2 separate regions of the Homo sapiens genome follow, and region 2 is linked to region 1. The links are contacts of gene promoters, found by promoter capture Hi-C in blood cells and fetal thymus (Javierre and others, 2016). All regions are on one chromosome and are shown on one strand. The core of a region is centred on a gene start or on the middle of the fragment in contact, and the rest is flanking DNA. Distances in the headings are between cores, read along the strand shown. Region 1 holds the start of ITLN2 (intelectin 2). Region 2 overlaps VANGL2 (VANGL planar cell polarity protein 2).

What was found. The method cuts DNA at HindIII sites, captures the fragments that hold promoters and counts their contacts. A CHiCAGO score of 5 or more calls a contact.
Region 2: a contact is called between a fragment that was not itself captured here and the fragment with the promoter of ITLN2 in region 1, in 1 of 17 cell types (M2 macrophages). The highest score is 7.1, in M2 macrophages.

The regions. Positions count from the first base shown.
Region 1 is chr1:160,951,586-160,957,254 of GRCh38, reverse strand. It overlaps ITLN2 (intelectin 2), which reads left to right and starts at 2,446. Exons shown (of 8, transcript NM_080878.3): 1 at 2,446-2,528; 2 at 2,805-2,868; 3 at 4,522-4,635. The coding sequence starts at 2,514. The HindIII fragment of the contact is 24,751 bases long and covers 1-5,551 here.
Region 2 is chr1:160,426,312-160,431,980 of GRCh38, reverse strand. It overlaps VANGL2 (VANGL planar cell polarity protein 2), which reads right to left. Exons shown (of 8, transcript NM_020335.3): 8 at 3,311-5,669. Among named protein-coding and RNA genes, the nearest start is that of VANGL2, 29 kb to the right of the region's middle. RefSeq lists an enhancer at 1,884-2,113. The HindIII fragment of the contact is 421 bases long and covers 3,012-3,432 here.

The DNA.
Region 1 (5,669 bases), core at 1,197-3,696:
TTTCCCTTCTCCAGCACCCTATGAGGTGGATGACTTCCATGCCTTGAATAGCAAGAGATGTGCCGGAGGCCTGGGAGTGAGAGGAAGCAGTGCCTTAAACACCAGCAACTTGTCCCGACACCAGATCCAGCATCAGAGGCAGCAGGGATGCCAAATCATACGGTTGGTGTTCAGCTGTGGTGTGTGCCTACTGTGGTTTCAGTAGGCAGTGCTGAAAGGAGTCAGGGTGGGCTGGGAGTATGTGTGGAATGGAGAAATGTTTGTTAGCACACACAAGATGCCCCTTGGGATTATGGACTTAAAAGGGGACCAGAAGTCTCCTTACAATGGGAGGGCATGAAAGCCAGAGAAATTCCTGTCTCATTAATGCTAACTCACCATGACCCCTGGGCTGATGATACTCTAGGGAAGTATCAGTTATGTTAAAAAGAGTTAACAGGCTGGCTCGGTGGTTCACGCCCGTAATCCTAGCACTTGGGCAAGCTGAGGCAGGAGGATCAAGGTCAGGAGTTCTGGAGTAGCCTGGGTAACATGGGGAGACCCCGTTTCTACAGAAAAGAAAAGAGTTTTTTTTGTTTTTTGTTTTTTTTGAGATGGAGTTTCACTCTTGTTGCCCAGGCTGGAGTGCAATGGTGTGATCTCGGCTCACTGCAACCTCCGCCTCCTGGATTCAGGTGATTCTCCTGCCTCAGCCTCCTGAGTAGCTGGGATTACAGGCATGCACCACCACGACCGGCTAATTTTGTATTTTTAGTAGAGACCGGGTTTCTCCATGTTGGTCAGGCTGGTCTCGATCTTTTGACCTCAGATGATCCACCCACCTCGGCCTCCCAAAGTGCTGGGATTACAGGCGTGAGCCACCGCGCCCAGCCCAAAAAAAGAGTTTTTAATAATATGATGTTGATAATTGTACTGTGGTTATACATGACATATTCCTATTATTAGAAAACACACAGTTGGCCAGGCATGGTGGCTTACACCTATAATCCCAGCACTTGGGAGGCCGAGGCAGGTGGATCACGAGGTCACGAGTTCAAGACCAGCCTGGCCAAGATGGCAAAACCCCGTATCTACTAAAAATACAAAAATTAGCTGGGCGTGGTGGTGGGTGCCTGTAATCCCAGTTACTCGGGAGGCTGAGACAGGAGAATCACTTGAACCTGGGAGGCGGGGGTTGCAGTAAGCTGAGACCATGCCATTGCACTCCAACCTGGGTGACAGAGTGAGGCTCTGTGTCAAAAAACAAAACAAAATAAAAAAAACCCATACGCATTTATTTAAAGGTAAAAGCCCATGATGTATGTACCTTACCTTCAAATGGTTCAGAAAAAAATTTTGTGTGTGTGGGTGTATTTTATATACATATATCTATATATATATAGAGAGAGAGAGAGAGAACACGAAAGATAAAGCAAATGGGGTGAAATATTAACAATAGTTGAATCTAGGTAAAGGGCATATATGTGGCTTTATATTATTGTTATTTTTGCAACATTTAATAAATTTCAAATTGTTTCTAAACAGAGTTAATAAAACAATAAAATTACAGCAGGATACATGCAATAATTAGTGTTTGGACAGTGTATAGTGGGACAAAGGAAGGATCCATCAGCTTTGTCTGGTGATGGGGGTGTCAGGGAAGGCCTCATAGAGAAATTGGAGGAAAGATTGGAAGGATGATGTCTTCTTTTCCCATTTATTTATTATTATTATTATTATTATTATTTTGAGGTGAAGTCTTGCTCTGTTGCCCAGGCTGGAGTGCAGTGGAGCAGTCTTGGCTCACTGCAACCTCCACCTCCTGGGTTCAAGCAGTTCTCCTGTCTCAGCCTCCAGAGTAGCTGGGATTACGGGTGCACGCCACTGCACCCAGCTAAATTTTTGTATTTTTAGTAGAGACAGGGTTGCACCATGTTGGCTGGTCTTGAACTCCTGACCTCAGGTAATCCGCCCACCTCGGCCTCCCAAAGCGCTATGATTATAGGTGTGAGCCACTGTGCCTGGCCAATTATTATTCTTAATTAATTAATTTATTTTTCATGAGGTGTCACCTCAGTCTAAAAGGATGATTTCTTGACAGAGTTGTGTCTAGGGGGCCAGGGCATCTGGGGGAGGTGGGAGAGGGAGAACGCAGGGGAGGATTGTGACCTATCCACGAATCTGATTAGATACTGCTACATTGTATGGCCTGCCTTGGCAAAGCAGGATGCCCCTCCTCAGATGGCGACAGTCACCTGTGTGGCCAGGAACACAGCTCCCTGCTCCTCCAGCCAGTCGCACGTCCTTTCTCATTTCCACGGTCCCAGGCTCAGGTACCCTCAGAGGGAAGGGCTTCAGAGGGAGGGGCTAGCAGCCTAGGCTGCTCAGGGTTGGGCTGGGCAGGGCTCAGGTGGTTTGGCTCTCCACAGCTCTCCACATAAAGGGACCAGCACTTCACCCTTCATCAGGATCCTCTGCAGGGGAGCTCCGAGTGTCCACAGGAAGGGAACTATCAGCTCCTGGCATCTGTAAGGATGCTGTCCATGCTGGTGAGAAAAATGTTTTTGATCCATGTGTGTGGGAGCAATGATGCCAGCTCAGGTCTCAGTTTTAGAGATTTAGAGTTTCAGGGAAATGAGCCCATGGCCCCTTGGGTATTTGTAGTGTTGGACAGCCGTGGGGCATATTCCAGGAGGTTTTAGAATGCTCATGAGCCCATCACTTTCCATTTGAGGATTCCTGACTCAGAAAGGTTAGGAAGTAAGAACGAGAGGATGACAAAGGAAGGGCCAGCCAGTGACCTTGTGCATCTTGTTTTTCCTTAGAGGACAATGACCAGACTCTGCTTCCTGTTATTCTTCTCTGTGGCCACCAGTGGGTGCAGTGCAGGTAAATGGCTTCTGAGAGTAGGAGCTGCAGTTTCCTGGGCTCCCCTCTGCTGTGCAGGGCCTGGAGGGAGTAGAGCTGGGCAGGGCTCTGAAGTCAAGGGTCAAAGGGGAAGTTCTGGAGAGGCAGGGAACCCAGGCTAGGCAGCCAACTTGAGGTGTGGACTGGGTGCTGATTTCTGGCCTCTCCTGGGGTCTGGTCTGAAGCAGTCAGGGTGTTAGCTCAGGTATTTCCTAGGGCTTGATTCTCTGCTTCTGTGGCTGTGAGGGGTTCATGGGGTGAGAGAGTAAGAACTGTGTCCCTGCTCAGCTGCTCTTGTGGCCTTGGCCTTGGGATCTCCAGAGGCAGCTGGGTGATCAGTGCTGTGTCCAGGGTACACCCTCCTCTAGTCGCAGAGGAGGATATTGTGAGAATAGAATCCTCACAATTCTATTCTTCCAGTAGGCACAATAGTGATATTTTTTCATTGATACTGGGTTTATTGTTTATTTCAATCCATCAGTTAAAAAAAGCACATTTACATATGTCATCTCATTTGATCTCCATGCGTATAAAGAAGTTATTAATGACATCTTAAAGATGAAGAAAAAGGATCAGAGATGTTAAGTGTCTGCTCAAGGAGGCACTGTCATCAGGGTTTGTCTGGATTTTACCTTGAGTCCTGTAATTTTTTTTTTTTTAGACGGAGTCTTGCTCTGTTGCCCAGGTTGGAGTGCGGTGGCGTGATGTCGGCTCACTGCAACCTCCGTCTCCTGGGTTAAAGAGCTTCTCCTGCCTCAGCCTCCCCAGTAGCTGGGATTACAGGTGTGCACCACCACACCCCAGCTAATTTTTGTATTTTTAGTAGAGATGGGGTTTCACCATATTGACCAGGCTGTTCTTGAACTCCTGATCTTGTGATCCACCCTCCTCGGCCTCCGAAAGTGCTGGGATTACCGGCATGAGCCACTGTGCCTGGCCTGAGTCCTGTAATTTTACACTTTTTCCCGCTCTGCCAGGCTTTTGGAATGATTTCTAGGCTTTTAGACTTATATACATGGCCCTTCATCCACTGGCCTCTGTTAATTTTTCAGCTTTGGTTTCCAGACTTCTTTGTATTACAACATATGTTCCAGCCACAATAAGCGACTGACCTGTAGTTTTTGGCAGGCTGGGCTGGGCTGGGCTCTGTTATTGCTTCAGGCCATCTCATGTGCTTTCTTCTCTTCCTGGGGTGTACTCTCCCCTTTCCTTCCTGTCCTGTAGCCAGCTCCCATTCTCCCATCAAAATCAGCCTGCTCTGAGTTACAGCTGGTCCCTTCCCCAGCAGTTCCCAGGCCTCACCCCCGTTAGTGGGTTTGCCCTCCCATCTCAGTTGGGTCCCTTTCCATGTGCTCCTTCCTTGTAGAATGTAGTCTCTTGAAGAAATGTGTCAAATTGTCTTTGTCCGGTGTCTAGGTAGTTCACACAGTAGGTATTTAATTAAAATTAGTCGAGTGGAAGATTCCAGGTGTTTAACCTATACCAGCTGTTGGATCAGACCGTCTTAGCATAGGGAATCCCTGACCTCCTGGGACTTCAGAGCAGAGTGATGAGTTGATACAGGGGCAGAGATTGGCCAGGAAAGATGGCCTCAGTGGTCAGACTTCTAATGAGACTCATTCTCACATTTTCTAGCAGCAGCCTCTTCTCTTGAGATGCTCTCGAGGGAATTCGAAACCTGTGCCTTCTCCTTTTCTTCCCTGCCTAGAAGCTGCAAAGAAATCAAGGAACGCTGCCATAGTGCAGGTGGTGAGTAATGAACCAACTCAGCATTCTCTCTTTGAAGCCACTTTTTAGCTCAACAGAGCCCAGTCATGGAAATCAGGAGGGACATATCCATATGGAGCCTGTTCTGCCCCCAGCTCCTACTCAAGGAGGTTTCTAGTGGGAATTTTGAGGCTTTTGTGTCCCATTCCAGTCACAAAGTCTTCTGAACACAGAGAGAATGCAGTGTTCCTGGTGATGCTTATGGTGGTGGCAAGAACTGTGATGCGTCTGAGATTTGCCCCTACTTGCCCCAGGTTTATAGATGCTGGCAGAAAACCTGAAACTCCCGAGCCAGAGACAAAGAGCTTTATTAATCACAGAAATAGCAGTAGCCAGAGCATCAGCATTTTCTTGTACTGGGCCAGGTGACATCTGCCCAAGTAGTGGGTTTGTCAAGCTGGCTGACAAATGTGGCTGGCAAGGAAACAACAAACCCTTTTTAGAGCCAGAGAGTTTATTACTCACATAGCTAGCAAGTTCAAGATCGGCAAAAGTGTCAGCTTTTCCCATCCCTTGCCCCACAAGACAGCACAGAAAAGAGGGCGAGTGACAACACAACATGGGCAGTGGCTGAGGAGCCAGTCCATGCTGCCATAGCTGTTTCATAGCCTGTGTACCCTACGGGGTGGGGGTGAGTGAGGCAAAAAGCCTCATACCTCTTCAGAACCCAGGAGATGATGACACAGTTATGACAGCTGTCTCATGACAGCCTCCACGAAAGATGGGAAGGGGGGTGAGAAGTGACCTTGTTGCAGCTCCTCACAAGGTTCCCATCTTTCCATGTTTGGGGAAGACCACAGGCTTTCTGCCAAGACTTAGGTCAGCTGTCCCTATGTGGCCTATGCGCAAATGTGCAAGGTCACCAGGATGCCACCGTGGAGCCAGTCTCCTGCAAGCTTGTGAACAGGAGGGGAACTCTGAGCTTAGGGAAGCTGAATCTTATGAAGTGGGCACAACCTTTGCTCTGAGCTGCACAGAGGCCCTATCCTGCTGTAGAATCAGATGTGGCGTGTGCT
Region 2 (5,669 bases), core at 1,973-4,472, 530 kb after region 1:
CTGCCCCCACACTTGCATGGACTCTCCCATTATCTACATCCCCCACCAGAGTGGTACATTTGTTCCAATTAATCACTCAAAGCTTATAATTTACATTAGGCTTCACTACTGGTACTGTATATCCTATGGGTTTGGAAAAATGTATAATGCCAAGTATCCACATTTATAGCACATACACAGTAGTTCCACTGCCCTAAAAAATCCTAAAACCACATACTTTTAACCACATACTTACCCTAAGTGAAGCAGCAGCATGACCTAATTGTGCCCAAAAGCAAGAAGGGACAATACACAACCGAAGATCTCATACTCCTAATTTTTTTTTTCTTTTTTCTTTTCTTTCTTTTCTTTTTTTTTGAGACAGAGTTTCACTCTTATCACCCAGGCTGGAGTGCAGTGGCCCAATCTCGGCTCACCACAACCTCTGCCTCCCGGGTTCAAGTGATTCTCCTGCCTCAGCCTCCCAAGTAGCTGAGATTACAGGCATGTGCCACCACGCCCAGCTAATTTTTGTATTATTAGTAGAGACGTGGTTTTACCATCTTGGCCAGGCTAGTCGCGAACTCCTGACCTCAGGTGATCCACCCGCCTCGGCCTCCCAAAGTGCTGAGATTATAAGCGTGAGCCACTGCGCCCAGCCATACTCCTAATTTTTATAACCTTATAACCAAAGTCATTCCCCTTACAGGATATCAGAGTACAGATGGCTATTTTTGACAAGTGACATCAAAATAGTTTACATATCAGGCTCAATACCCTCACACACTGTTGGCTTCAGTCTGCCTTTTACAGATGGTATTTACCACCTCCAGGAAAATAGTGTGCTTCCTCGGGTTGCCTACAACATATGACAAAATAAAATTTCCCAACTTATCTAGCAAAAGTCCCATGAGCTCCAAGGGGAGGGGGCCAATGTTTTATTTATCTTTGTATCACAATGCCTACCACACAGTAAGTGTGCCCCCAAAACTTGCTGAGATGAAATGAGAGAAGCCAATGCCTTGGCCAGGTTTCCCAACTCTAAACCAGTACCTTCTCCCACTATTCTACATACTCAAATGTGGCATTCACTGTTATGAGCAGGTAGGATGTCATGTCTGCCCTGCCGTTTGTACCAAGAGAAATGGACCCCATTCTCAGCCTGAAAAGAAACTGGGGAGCTAGACAGGGATGACTATTCTCCAAGATTTACTATGTAGGTGGTCCTTTATTATCTCTCTAGCATCTTCCATGACCATGTGTACACTAATGCTGCAGTGCTTTTCCAAAGGCTGACTTTCCCCTACCCCAGCCTTCCTGGCAATTGGAAGAGCATTACTATCATATGCTTAAAGTAACAAAAAAGCCAAGGGTTACCTTAAGCAAGCTGACTTTCAGTCTGTAGAAGCCATTAAACTATCCCAAACAAACAAAAAAAAATAGTAACAAAAAAATTAAAATTAAAAAATAAAAAACTAATAACAAATCACTGAGACCTTGGTCTAAAGATCTTTATGTCTCCTCAGCCAGAGCCCCAGCCCCCAGTTCCCCCTCTCGGCTGTATTTCAAAGGCAAAGGCTAAAAAACAAAAATCACACATGGGCAGCATATGTAATCACATATAATCACATATAATGTCATGAAGTCCCAGGCATGACCCTGACAATCCACCAAGCTGGGTCCCTAACTTCAGTGCTATGTGAAGAACTTCTGTGGAAAACACATCCTTTCAAACAAAAGTTACAAATACCCTTTGCTGCCTGACAAATGGTCAGGATTATCACTTTTGCTTGCAGCAAACCTCTAGAGAAAATATGATCTTATCAATCAAATATTGAGGTCTGGCTTTAAATCTATGAATTCCTGGGGCCAGCATTACAAGAGGAGGTCCCTGAGGTTAACTAGCCTTCTCAAGGGTCCACCAAGGTTAGCTCAGTGAGGGCAGGACCATATCCAGTATCTTTACCAGAGAAAGTACTTTAGTATCAGGCTGGGAACATCATAGGCACTAAATAAAGAATAAACTTAAAAGGTGTTTACTATACTTGGCTGTTGAGAACAAGAATAATTTCAGAGGCATGCTAAGGTAGAAATTTGGTCACAATGTAAGTCACAAGTTGACTCTGAAATGAACTGGAAACAGCAAGTGAAACTATTCTACAAACCTAGTTACAGAAAGAACAGAGCCGTGAGAATGGGGATGCAATTTCAAGGGAAGTATTTTTGTTTGTTTTCACATGAGAAAGACTGGAGTGCAATTTTAAAGGGAGAAGCAAGTATATGATCCCTTTCATGAGCCCCTATTGTATTGTTAGTTGTTCAGTTCATTATTCATGCAACAATTTTTTATTGAGGACCAACTATATGCGAGGAACTGGTTTCAATTCTAGGAATACTTAGATGAACAAAATGTAATCTCAAGGTGAGTGTGTTCCCCCATCTTGAGTCTTAAACAAACTTCCTAGATTTCTTGAAGGAAACTCCCCGAGCTCCTTGGAATCCAGCCAGGGTTTGTCTACACTCTGCCTGAGAACACGCCATGAAGCCTTGCACTAGGGTCACCCAGCCTGTCACCCCTGTAAACTGGGTCATCCTCCAGGATGGAGCCTCTCTTGCCTTTGCATCCCCAGAGCCTGGCAGAGTATGAGGCAGGGGAGAGGAGGAGGAAATCTAGTGAATAGGCCACCTCCATACAGAAATGCTTGTTTTTAACCTTAGCAGGCTGTTTACATGCTAAGCATCTTGCCCAAAGTCACAGAGGTCAGGCCCAGGTAAGACTGGGAGAAGGGACCCAATCTCTTGAGGGTGATTTTAGTACCTGATTACATGCATTACAGTGACAACAGAGCACTGAACTCTCTACATATTTAGAACTAATATATATACTACAGAAACTTGTCTCAATGAATTGTGATGGGCTGTCACCACTGACTGAAATCTCAACTATCCCCTGAAATTCCTATGGCACTTTATGTTTTAGAAATACGTTTTAGAAACCCACTCCTGCCCTAGAGGCCATACAGACACAAGCTTGCTCAGGAGGGTGGACCCAGGAAGTAATCTTTCTTTCTCTATCCTGACAACTACACCAGGAAGTGGTTAAGCCCTCACATTGTTGTTTCTCTCTCTTTAGAATCAGGATTCAGAATAAGCAATTTCCTTTTTCATTTTCCCATTTCTCTCCAACACACCCTGAAGGCCTGCAGAGCAATGATGAGCTCACACTGCCCCCTCCTGCCCATTCCCTCCCTAACAAGGAATATATTCATTATTCCCTGGCCCTCATTTGCTCCCATTCCTGTAAAGAAAGAAAAGCAACAGAATGCCCCCACAAAAGTCAAATGTCTTTATTTTATATAAAAAAAATTTGTACAGTTTTAGTTCCTATGTTTAAGAAAAAAATCCTAAAATTGCCGTAATGTTTAGATCCACTGCAAACTGTAGAAACAAGCTTTTTATATATTAAAAAAAATTTACATTTTACAATTTTCTACATGCATGCACAAGGTCTCAGCTCTGTAACCCCACCCCCCCAAAAAAAAGGAAAAAAAATCTAGATCCAACAGTGGAAAATTCTACATTTACAATCTCACTTGGAAGGGACTCAAAAAGCCCTCTTCCTTTTGCGCACGGAAGAACAAATCACAACAATCACACACCAGGACTGAATCCATCAGCAGATACTGCCCTGTGGGAAGGGCAGAGGAAAGAGAAGACAGACGGACTGACAGACACCACAGAGGAACAGGGGAGTTAGCCTGGGACCAATGGAGGAGAAGTACGAACCCTGGGAAAAAGACGTGTCAGATGAGAAAGTTCCGGAGAGTCCGATGTCTCATCGCAGGTGTTACATCATCAGGGTTTGCCATTGGAATACTGAGTGGAGATGGGAAAGAGAAAAGTTAAGGGCTGAAATGGGAGGGGAATGGGAAGAAAAAATGAGAGACAAGAGGGAAATAAGAAAAAACAAAGAGAGCACAAAGACCAGTTTAGGAGAAAGGACCAATGGGGACAGTGGCAGAGTGGCGAGGTAGGTGAAGGACTGAGGCACAGCGTCCTGTTGTGGAGGGAGGAAAGGCAAGCGTTCCGAGGTGGTGAAAAGGAAGGCCTGCTAGGCACGGTGGGGATGAACGAGGATGCCATGAGTCACACAAAAGACAGTGCTGGTGAGGCCCAGCCACAGCAGCCCTATGGTGTCAAGGGGGTAAGAGGTGGGCATACCCCCACAGCAGGAGAATGAGCAGATCCAGCGCATGATGGGACAGACACAGTGGGGAAACTGCTCAGAGGGACTGAGTCAGCTGCACACCCCACAGCAGTTCACAGCATGGAGACAACTTCCCACAGGGGAGAAGCAGAGGACAAACACATGGCCATATGTCTGACAATTCATCCTGACATTTTAAAAAACAATAGTAATAATAATAATAATAATAATAATAATAATGAAAAAAGACAAAGATACCACAGTTCTGAAGCAAAAGACCAAAATGCTACCATTCTCAGGCACAGCCCTTAGTGCTTAGAGAGTTGGAGGCAAAAAATTTTTTTTAGGAAAGGGGAATGAAAAAAAAATCACAGTGATTAAAAACATGGCAGGATCTTAAAATAAACACTCCCCAGCCCCTAACCTAGGGCAGCAACTAAGATCCCAAATCCTTTCCCTCTCCCCCACCCCAACCTGCTCCTCAGACCACACCACACTCCATCCTGTCCACAAAGGCAATGACCCCAGTCACCATCCAGGCCCTGTTTTCCAGGATAGTGAGGTATTTATGTGACTCAGAAGGGACTCTCTGACACAAAGTTTTTGAAGAGAAGAAAAGAGACAGACCCCCAGAACAGGACATATTTCATACAGGCCTATCTCATAACCCTGGCCCCAGCCAGAGGCCCTGCCTAAGTGAGCTCCACAACCCACCCCTTTGGGGACAAGGTAAGCATTGGCCAATGAGCTCCTCTCTAGCATGCGGTGGGTAAACAAGTGAACTTTTGCAGAAAGGACAGCAGGAGAAACCCCGATCACTAGGCTCCATCATTCCCAGGGCTGGTGCTACACAGAGGGGGAGCCTCCCAGGGGAGACACTGGGGATCTTATCCCAGGATGTGCTCTGCAAGGTAAGTACCAACCAGTCTTTCAGGGAAAAGAAGGGCCTACAAAAGGACACTGTGAGTTACTCAGAGGAATGGCCTAGTCATTGCAGCCATCAGAAAGGTCCTCCATGTGGATCCTGGCTGGATGTATATGGGTACTTCCTAATTCTACTCTCCTTGGCAAAAATGTCTGAGTCAAAGGCTCAGATTTATATTGAAAATATTTATTAGAGGGCCAGCAAATTTTGCTCAAAATGAGATCTAAATTATCAAGAATTTGGATTTGGTGCAAAGACTATGGAAGCTAAAATGGGGTGAGGGGTGAAGTACCTACAAAAGGCAGTAATCCTTGCCCCTCAACCCAATACAGACGGAGCCCAGAGCTCAGAGAATCAGGCAGGGAGAAAAGGGGTGGGGACCCTGGAAGGCCAAGGAAACGAGACCCCTGAGGCAAAGAACTGGACTTAAGGCAGGGGATGAGGAGGAGCTGCCGGCTCTTCCCCAAAAGAGATGAGGCAACAGGTCTCTGGAGTCGAGAGAAGGCGGCAGGACAGGGGTGGCTGGTGACAAAAATAAAAACATTTGTCTAAGACCAC